3 separate regions of the Homo sapiens genome follow, and all the other regions are linked to region 3. The links are contacts of gene promoters, found by promoter capture Hi-C in human tissues and cell types (Jung and others, 2019). All regions are on one chromosome and are shown on one strand. Each heading gives the region's core, a stretch centred on a gene start or on the middle of the fragment in contact. The rest is flanking DNA. Distances are from core to core; before and after follow the strand shown.

Region 1 (3,219 bases), core at 566-3,065, 50 kb before region 3:
TGGCAAAGTCTCTTTGTGTCTTTATTGCCTGCCCTGGTTAGCACATTGCCTGCCCAAAACAGGAGTCTAATAAATGTGTCTTGGATTGGATTCAACACCCTCTTAGTAGCTACTCTGCTTTGTCAAAGCCTCTCCTGAATGTGCTCAGAACCAAACAAATTATTCCCAATGCAGTGCGGTCAGCGCAGAGTACAGTGACTATTAATATTTCTACTGAGGAAGCACACGGCTACATTCATTCTTTTTTAGCCACCACTTCCTACTGTTGGTTCACATTAAGCCTTTAGTCACATGAACTGCTGCCAAGCTCAGTTGTTCCCCATCCTGTAATTGCGCAATTGCCTTTTGAATCTAAAAGCAGAAATGTACACTTATTCCTTGCTCAACTTCATCATGTTGGTTTCCATCCAGCATTGCAGCCTATTGAAATCATTATGAATCATGATCACAGGCATATGCAGTGGAAGCCATCCTTTTTGGGCTTATGTCGTATGAAAACACTATGTAGATGACTTCTATGTTGTTGAGTCGTTGATTAAAGTATGGAACAGGGCAGGGTTTTTTTAGAAAAGTACATAAGGGTGCTTCACCAGGTATCTTTGCAGGTTGACATGGAGCCTTAAACACTCATTAAGTCTAGATATTCAGCCAGATTCAAAGACACTTCGTGATTTTTATCAGGTCCTATTTTATTACTAAAGGTATTAGGGAAGATTCAGAATTTTTCAGAATAACCAAAACAAATTGTTTCAGGAATTCCACAACCAAAAAGTGATTATAGAAAGGGAGCACTTTTTAAACAAAAAAATTCCCTATAGCACATGAAGCTATTACAAGATGTTTTGTGGGAATACTGTTAGCCTGACTTTGTAACTTCAGGAATTACTGTTTTCCTAAAAGAATCAGTAGTATCAATCTAGAGAAGTATAAGCTAATAAATATCCTTCCCCTCTAGATAGGAATGTCATATCATTTGGGCAGAGATGTAAATGCATCAAGGATCAATACAAACAGAAGTTATTCATATGCAAAAGAAATAACAGCATAATTATTTTAGGCTTCAGAAAAGTTAATTGGATAATTCATTAGCAAAAATTTCTGGTTGTGCTACAATGATTATTAAAAAGTCCATTCTTTTAAAGTATATGCCTTAAGTTCAACTTCACTTTTATTCATTCTGGAATAACATATCAGTGATTTTCCAGGTCACAGCCCTTGAAGTATAGTAATACACGATGGTTTACATTGATTACTATATGCCCAGTGACTAACACTGCAGGAACTCAGTATAGCTTTGTTGAATGAATGATGAATGACAAATTCTGCAAATTCAGCAGGTGAGAATAATTAAGCAACTATACTCAATCTACAAATCAATGACATAATTTTGTAACATACTATAGCAAGAGTTCATCACTGCAACCAGGGCTGCAATGCAAATGTACAAATAGTAGCTCCTCTTCTCAAGGAGTTCTTTTGTTGCTAGACAAGTCAGATTCTCACTGACCAATTAGACAGTCATAGTCTCACCAAATAATAGAATGTTCAACCACACATGATGTAAAGGGCTAAGTACACGAGTACAGAAAAATTATGAAAAATATTTAGCTCATGTGGAGAAAAGACTTAAGGGAACAAATGCACTTTAAAATTATAAACTGATCCAGTACTAATCTAGAGGCCACATACCACATCAGGGGTTACATGGCTCTAGAGAGAGGGGGCTTTAGTGACACGTAGATTTGAGTTTGAATTCAAGCTCAGCCCCTTGCTAGCAGGGAGACCCTGAGACATTATGCAACCTCTCTGAGACCTAGTTTCTTGATCTATAAAATGGGAATAATAACAATGACCTTTCAGAAGGAATAACAAGTACATATGTTTAATAACCAGCATATTTTTTTTACCCAGTAGTTGCTAGCAATTATTATGGCAGGTAAAATTAAAAAGTCACTGACCAATTATAGAATTAACCTTTAATCAAGATTAGGATTTTAGTACTTTAAGGTAGAATAAGTATAATCTTTACTGCAACACCAATGTTCTCAGTCATTTACAGCTTCTGATGTAAATCACATCTTATTTATCTGATTACTGAGGAGCAATCATGCGTCCAGCTCTGTTCCAGGCTAAGTAAACCCTGTGATGTGTTTCCTCTAACTTGCACTCATCTTAATGCAATGGAAACTTGATTGTAGTGAACATAATTCCACAGGGAATCTCAAACACCCTTGGAAACCATTCTGTCATCAAAAAGTCAAAATTAAATGCCTAAAACTGGCCGGGGCCCTCCAGGTCTGGTGAGTGAGGTCAAGGAACCCAAAAGGCTTGATGATGTATAAAATGACACCACTAGTTAGTGGTGAGGCTAGGACAGAATGAAAGTTTCATGGCCTTTTGATAAGGCAAAGTGGCTTAAAGCTTTGCTTTAGTGCATGAGTTGGAAACTGGTTAAGTTTATGACAAGTGGAGTTTTCCCAATCTTTACAAGGTCACAAGCTTTCTTGGCAAGGTAGATTTTTTAATTCTAACATAGAAAATACAGTGACTTTTAATTGTTTACTCAGGGTCACCCATAAGCAGTTTTCAGAAACATCTATGAACTGCAGTAAGCAGCACTCAGGAGGCAGCCAGTCAGCAGAAACGGGGTGAAGTAACATGCAACACGATCTCTGAAACTGCCTAACAATTAGTGACAAAGCCAGGGCACAGCCAGTGAGAATGCCATCATTTGACCAAGCCGAGGCTGAGGAAATGATCCTCTCTAGGCAGACACTAGATGCAAGTGCAAAGAGAGACCTTACACCTGATACTCTCCGGCAAAGAAGCCAAAAGGGCTTTTGAAGTTGGTGTTTATAATATTAAAGCAGAATCTCAGAGTGTAGTAGTCACTGACATTAGCCAATGCCTATAGATTCACATAGACCACACTCACAGCCATGATTCCCCGTGAGCTCACCTCCAGGTCCCCCAGGAGGCACATACAACAAACATGTTTATTACTGTCACTACTATTATTTCCACTCCATAAACAAGCCCTGAATGCCAAAGTGACTTCTCCCACAGCTAGTCAATGCTGCAACTGGTAGCTCCAGAAGTTTGTGTTCTTAAGAACCAAACAGGAATTACTACAAATAAATGCAGCCAGAGCGAATGTCCCCTGCACCACTCAGCTGGCCCCTGTTTACCTTTTCAGATGCAAACATCTCCTCACTCTGC
Region 2 (3,404 bases), core at 20-2,519, 58 kb after region 3:
TTGTTCTAAGCAATATCACATTGATTGACAATATTATAATAATGTTAAGCAAACCTTGCATTCCTGAGATGAAAATCATTTGGTTATCATATATTCTCCTTATTATATATTGTTGTATTATTTTGCTAAACTTTTATTCAGGGTTTTTGAGTATATATTAGTGTGAAACATTGATATGTAGGCTTTTTCCCCCTTATAATGTCTGTCTAATTTTGGTATCCAAGAAATCCTAGCATTATGGAATGAGTTGAGTAAGAAATATTTCCACTTCTTTAATTTATTTGAAAGACTTTGTGTAGAATTGATATTATTTTTTCCTTAAGTGTTTGATAGAATTTGTCTATGAAACCAGCTGGGCCTGAAATTTTCTTTGTAGGAAGCTTTTAAATTATAAATTTAATTTTTAATAGAGGATTATTTGATTTTTACTTTTTCTTGACTAGGTTTTAGTAGTTTGTTTTTTTCAAAGAATTTTTAAAAATCTCATCTCTTTTGTCAAATTTATGGGATCAAATTGTTTGTAATATGCCTTTATTGTCACTTTTTTTTAAGACAGTGTCTTGCTCTGTCACTCAGGTTGCAGTGTAGTGATGTGAGGCTCACGGCAGCCTTAACCTCCCAGGCTCAAGTGATTCTCCCACCTCAGCCTGCCAAATAGCTGGGACTACAGGCATGCACCTCCACAACTGGGTAATTTTTAAATTTTTTGTAGAGATGGCGTCTCACTAGGTTGCTCACGTTGGTCTCAAACTCCTGGGCTCAAGTGATCCTCCCATCTTGGCTTCCCAAACTGCTGGGATTATAGGCATGAGGCACCGCTTCTGGCCCTTTATTATCTTTTTAATGGATGTAATATCTCTAGCTAGAAGGTTATCAATTTTACTTTTTCAAATAAACAGGTTTTGTTTTTAATTGATTTTTATGTACAGTTTTTCTGTTTTCAACTTTACTGACTTTAGCTCCTAACTTTAATATTTTCTTTCTTCTACTTTGGGTTTAATTTGCTCTTCTTTTTCTTAGCTTCAAGTCAAAGCTTTGTTCATTGACTTTAGAGCTTCTTTTATGATTGTTTAAACAATTAAAATTCCATAAATTTCTTCCTATACGCTGTTTTAGCTTCATCTCACAAAATTTGCTTTGTTGTTCTTTCATTTTCATTGAGTTCAAAATATTTTCTAATTTCTATTGTGACATATTCTTTTACCTATGGGTTATTTAGAAGTATATTGTTAGTTCCAAACATTTGCATATTTTTAGATATTTTCCTGTTGTTGGTTTCTAATTATTGCCTTGTGGTCACATATGCAACAAAATTATATTACTCTATAATTTCAATACATTTCATTTTCTTGAGATTTATTTTATACCCTAGTGTGTGGTCTTCATAAACATTCCATATGCACTGAAAAGAGTGTGTATTCTGTAGTTGTTGGATATAGTGTTCTATAAATATTAGTTATGTCAGATTGATTTATAGTGTTTTTCAGCCCCATTATACCCTTACTGGTTTTTTTGTTTGATTGTTCAGTCTATACTTATGTTTTGCTTGAGATGAAATTATTTCTCTGGCTGCTTAGAGCTACTTTCAATAGATTCAGTCTTTTACATTGATTTTACCATTTTAGATTCCTACACTCTTTTGTTTTGATTCCTTGCTTGTGTGACTGGATTTCATCGTTAAATAGTTTTTTCAAAATGTGTTTTAAGAAAGTATGATTTTTGTTTAAAAATGTTTACCTGTGGTTTTTATACCAGACAACATGTATGGGTAGATCTTTTCTTTTTCTCAGAATCTGGTATATGTTATTCCAATGTCTTCTGGAATTAAATTTTCTGTGGATAAGTCATCCTGCATTTTTACCCTATTTATGACTTTTAAATTTCTGCCTGGATTTCTTCCTTTATTTTTAAATTTATATATTTTATTATGAAATATAGTACACATACAGATTCCTTTATTTCTAAAGTTTAACAGTTTAATCAGACTACGTCGTGGTATTTAGTACATTATATCATTTTTACTTGATACTTAGTGTGCTCTTTCAAGTTTTTAGATTCTGTTCTTTATTCATTTCAGGGTAATTTTATATCTCTAAATACATTTTCCCCCTCTAAATCCATTTTATTTTTTACTTCAAGGACACCACCTACATTTAAGTTGAACTGTCTTTGTTCTCTATTATTTTACCTTCATTCATTTCATTTCTTTTATTTTTATTATGTATTCACTCTTTTTATCTTAAGATATTCCTCCACATCATTGATTTAATATTTAGCCTTATCTGTTTTATTCCTTGCCGTATCTAGGTTACTTATGGGATATATAATGGTGAGAGGTTTTTGGTATTCTCAATATGCTTTTTTTCATTCTCCATCTCCTTTCCCATCTCCATGTTGTTATATGTTCTTGCCTTTGCATTCTTTTTATATTGAATTAATTTTTTTTTTTGAGACAAAGTTTCACTCTGTGGCCAGGCTGGAGTGCAGTGGCGCAGTCTCGGCTCACTGCAACCTCTGCCTCCCGGGTTCAAGTGATTCTCCTGCCTCAGCCTCCCGAGTAGCTGGGACTACAGGCATGTGCCACCACGCCCAGCTAATTTTTGTATTTTTAGTAGAGATGGGGTTTCACCGTGTTGGCCAGGATGGTCTGGATCTCTTGACCTTGTGATCCGCCTGCCTTAGCCTCCCAAAGTGCTGGGATTACAGGTGTGAGCCACTGTTCCTGGTCAAATTAATATTCTTAATAAAGTTATTCTATAGAGACATTGTAAAATAATATTCTCCTGTTTCTTGAGCCCTATTCCAATTTTAGTCTTTCGTTTGTCTTTTGCATGCTACATTCCTTTATCTTCTTCTTCTTGTTTCTATTCATAGATTCTATTTAATTTCTTTTAACCTTGCCTATGCTTGGGAAGCTTTGTCCAAACTTTTATTTTCTCTATTATAGCATAGGCTTATGACATTTCTTATTTATAGCTGATGCTTCTACTATCTCACCGCATATTGCCTTCACTTAACGTGAGCATACCTATAGCTGCAGACAGTTCCTGGCATGCTGACAGCTTCCTTCCACAAGGACCTGCATTTCTCACTTTACTGCCTGTAGGCCTTCTTCAACACCACGGAAATTTTCTTGATTGTGTGTAAACATGACCCAGAAGTGTGGGAAGAATTATGCTCTTGGGGAAACCCCTAAACAAGGGGAGATAGAAGTCAGTGAATAAAGAGGGTATCAACCACAGAGAATGCATTGAACAAGTGGACATGATAACTCAGCCATTAGAGACCAGCCAGTCTCTGTCCTCAACCACCATAGTGCTTGCACAAAGAGTCCATGAACAGTATAGCCTTGGTGGCAAGCCTGGAGACTCTGTATAGGTCTAACAACTACACAAAAGACATTT
Region 3 (3,472 bases), core at 724-3,223:
AGCACAAAAGCATTCCGAAACAGGTAACTTTTAACATCCTCCTTTGTAATGTTCTGCACTTTCTTCTTGGCCAAAAGTGTGCGTTTACGGACTCCCTGCTGGAATCTCTCCATCCTGCCCCCCATCTTGGGCTCTTCTCCATTGCTTTTAGTCATATTTTACTTTTCTAGGAGGGTCTCTTCTTTGCACTTCAGTGTCTGGGAATCACCCACAGAAAGCCAAACCTCCTCTTTGGTATTAGAAAACACAACTAGAATGGGAGAAAAAGAGACATGAGTTATAGCCTCCAGGGGTGAGAAATCAGTGCTGCTCCACACCAGGCAAGCTCTTGGCAAATTGCATAATCTCAGCAGGAATCAAGGACTGGAGAGCCACAATACCAGACCTCAAGGTTGCAGTGTGCATATTTTAGTGGACCACGTGTGAGAAATGTGCATAAATTCGGAATATATTCTATTTTCTTTTTAAAAATCCGTCCTTCCCCTTCCAATGAGGCTATAAAAGGGTTCTTCAGAGCTAGATCTGACTGAGAACCCCTATTCCCACCCTCCCCCGCAGAACCCAGCTGATGCCTTGCACAACGTACACAATCAGTAAATGTCCAATTGAACTGAATGCACAGAAAGTATTCAATCATTACTTGACAAATTATGCTGTATACATGGTTGAAAGCATAACCAGGTCAATAAAAATAATTAAGATACTGATAGGTGGGAGTTGTCTCTGTTACATGCAGTAAAGTAACCAGCTATTTTCTTCATTAAGAAAAAAATATAATAATATCTACTAGTAAATATGGTCATAAAAAGAACACAAGTGCCCACAGTACATGGGAAATACATGTGACTATTTTACAGGGTAATTTTTTCATTTTTTTTCCATGAAATAAGCAAAGTGCTCTGGGCACATCTATAAATCATCTGAAATCACAATTCAGCTTCGTTTATCACAAGTAGAAGTATGAAGTAGTGTTTTTCTTTGTGACACACATGCTGGAATCTTCCGAGGAAACTATCGCTGACTTTTTAGCGTTTTAAAATTTAGGATTTCTAGAACAGATGAGATGAAACCAATTTTCATTCCAAACATTACAGCTTGTGGTTTCTGGTTTCTTTAAAGCACTCACGCTATTTAACTACATTTCAGTAAATCTCTTTCCTGGTGGAAATCAGCTGTTCTGAAAAATCAAGGGATTCCTCCTGGTGCTTTACAGGAGCTCTAATCCATAGCCCTTCCCATAATCAATCCGAGTGAAAACCAGCCGTACCATGGATGTGTGTCGCTGCCAACGCAAGCAGCCAGCGTGTGCGCCTGTGGGGGAGGTAACTGGAAACCAAAGGACTCCTCGCAAATGACTTCTCGCAATCCCAGTGCAGGAAAAAAAAAGACTTGTCTTAACAGTTTGCCTTTTAAATAAAATTGCAAGTTGGGGTCAGTGATACTAAGACTTCTAATTTGTTTAAGACTTCACACTGGATTAAATGCTTAGGGAGAAGTGAAGACCGGGAAATAGGAGAGACCAGATTTTTTTTTTTTTTAAACTAATAGCTCTGATTCCTCTTACCAGTCACTTTTAAGCAGATCCGCTCAACCTTGATCCTTTTCTAGATCTCGCGCCACAATCTGCCCCCAATCCACCCCGAATGACTCAACTCCGAATTAACAGCGGACCCGGCATAAACAGACACCACACTCTCACGACGTGAGATGACTAACAAGGACTTTATCTACCAAAATGGCTAGCCTTGATTCAGGCTACTCCTCTGCTTGGAAGGCAAAATACATCGGCAGAGAAGTGAAAGGAGAAATTAAACCCAGCAGGAACACAGAATGTGACACTTACCTTTTCTGATTTTGTAAGGGGTGGAAGATATCAAGCAGTAACGAGGTGAATTCCCCAGCAGGTACAACGGAGCAACAATCCGCAGCGCGCGTAAGCAGGCAGGCTAGCCCTGACAGTGTGCATGTGCTCTGAAACTGCAAGTTACTATCAGGGCAACTTAAGAAAAGGGGAGGAGTCTGTGCCCGGGAAAGGAGGAGTGGGGAATGGAAACCGCACAGGGAGGAGGGGGAAACCCCGAGGTTTCTGGAATATTGATTAATCTTGGCACACCAGAAGCAGGCTTGCTGGCTTTGTTTTGCTCCTTAGACCACTTTCACGCTTTGTCAGTTCACTGTCATTAGAAATGCAAAACCGGGACTAGGAAGAATTGAAAAATAAAGCGCACACAATCGGAAAGCTGAAAGTCTTGATTAGAACGTTTCAAAGACTTTTCTAAGGCTAAATTTAATTACCTCACATTATTGCATGTTTCCTCCCTTTCAGGGAAGACGAGGGTGTGCTCTTTAGCCTGGTTGTACAACTGTTACGAGAAAGTTCCTTTTTCGAATCGGGGAATTAACTGACGTTTCTTGGGAAGACACTGAATGCAGACAAGTATGTAGAAAAAAAATAATGCTTACTACGATTCTCTAAATTTGTCTAAAGTTAGGGACATGCCTCTATTTCAGCAGTTGAAACTTCAAAACTTCATTTTAACAAACCTAATTTAGCTCACACTGCCTGTGTTGCAAAGACGGAAAAGGTAGCAAATGTAAAGAGACTGGAATTTTTGCCAAACTAGAAAATGAAAAGCATTTTAAGACCAAGAGTGCAAAGTACACTTGAGATTTGGTGATTCAAAAGATAGGTTGCTGTTCAGATGTCTCCATTTTAAAGGATGCTAAATGTTCTCCCTACCACACACAACTTTTTTAGAGCTAAAAAATTCTCATTGCCTTGAGAAGGTAACTTGAGCTTCTAGTCCACTTTTCTTAAAAGAAAAATAAATTGTGAAAATAGATATTAGAAAATAAAAAAAAATTTTTTTGAGGTGACTTATTCCCAAAACTTAAATCTTCTTTAGAAGGAAGAAAATGGTTCATTAGAAACAAAAATTTATACCAGAATCACAGCCTGAGGTTTGGATTCTTGTTCACTGAATTTAATATTCCCCATGCAAAATATGCTCAATTCTTGGTCTATTATTCAACAAGAAAGTATGTCTTTTTTCCCCTCAATACAAATCTCTGGAGATCATAAAGAAATATCTCCTTTCACCCTCAACTGTATGTCCTTTTAAACAGCTACTGGTTGGAAAGCAATGGTGAATCATGTCAATGCTTTAAAATTACAAATCAGCAGCAATTATAACAGCTTTCTAACATGCTATCATTTTAAGAACTTACTGAAAGTACATGCTTTTGACATTCCCAGCCCTCAGTGACCCTTCCCTTCCTCTGATCTCCTAGGTCACTGAGCATCTATACTACATTGTTTAGCACTTAATTATACCATGTTTTGTACTGCATCCTTCTTTTTAAGCTCATGTTAAGTTTTGGTTTCTCAACTAAATTATAAGTTCTTTGAGGGCAAGAACTTGTCTTATACCTAATACAGAGTCAATATTAAGTAACTCTTTTTAAGTGGGTG

Evidence for each region. The method cuts DNA at HindIII sites, captures the fragments that hold promoters and counts their contacts. A contact is called where the count stands out against the background at its distance.
Region 1: a contact is called between a fragment that was not itself captured here and the fragment with the promoter of SLC1A3 in region 3, in 1 of the 25 tissues and cell types used here (hippocampus).
Region 2: a contact is called between a fragment that was not itself captured here and the fragment with the promoter of SLC1A3 in region 3, in 1 of the 25 tissues and cell types used here (aorta).

Annotation. Positions count from the first base shown.
Region 1 is chr5:36,654,850-36,658,068 of GRCh38, reverse strand. The region is part of intron 3 of SLC1A3 (solute carrier family 1 member 3); the gene reads right to left. Among named protein-coding and RNA genes, the nearest start is that of SLC1A3, 50 kb to the right of the region's middle. The HindIII fragment of the contact is 6,004 bases long and covers 1-3,219 here.
Region 2 is chr5:36,546,572-36,549,975 of GRCh38, reverse strand. No RefSeq gene overlaps it. Among named protein-coding and RNA genes, the nearest start is that of SLC1A3, 58 kb to the left of the region's middle. The HindIII fragment of the contact is 4,082 bases long and covers 1-3,310 here.
Region 3 is chr5:36,605,107-36,608,578 of GRCh38, reverse strand. It overlaps SLC1A3 (solute carrier family 1 member 3), which reads right to left and starts at 1,973. Exons shown (of 10, transcript NM_004172.5): 1 at 1,844-1,973; 2 at 1-250. The coding sequence starts at 155. RefSeq lists an enhancer at 1,767-1,866. The HindIII fragment of the contact is 11,728 bases long and covers 1-3,472 here.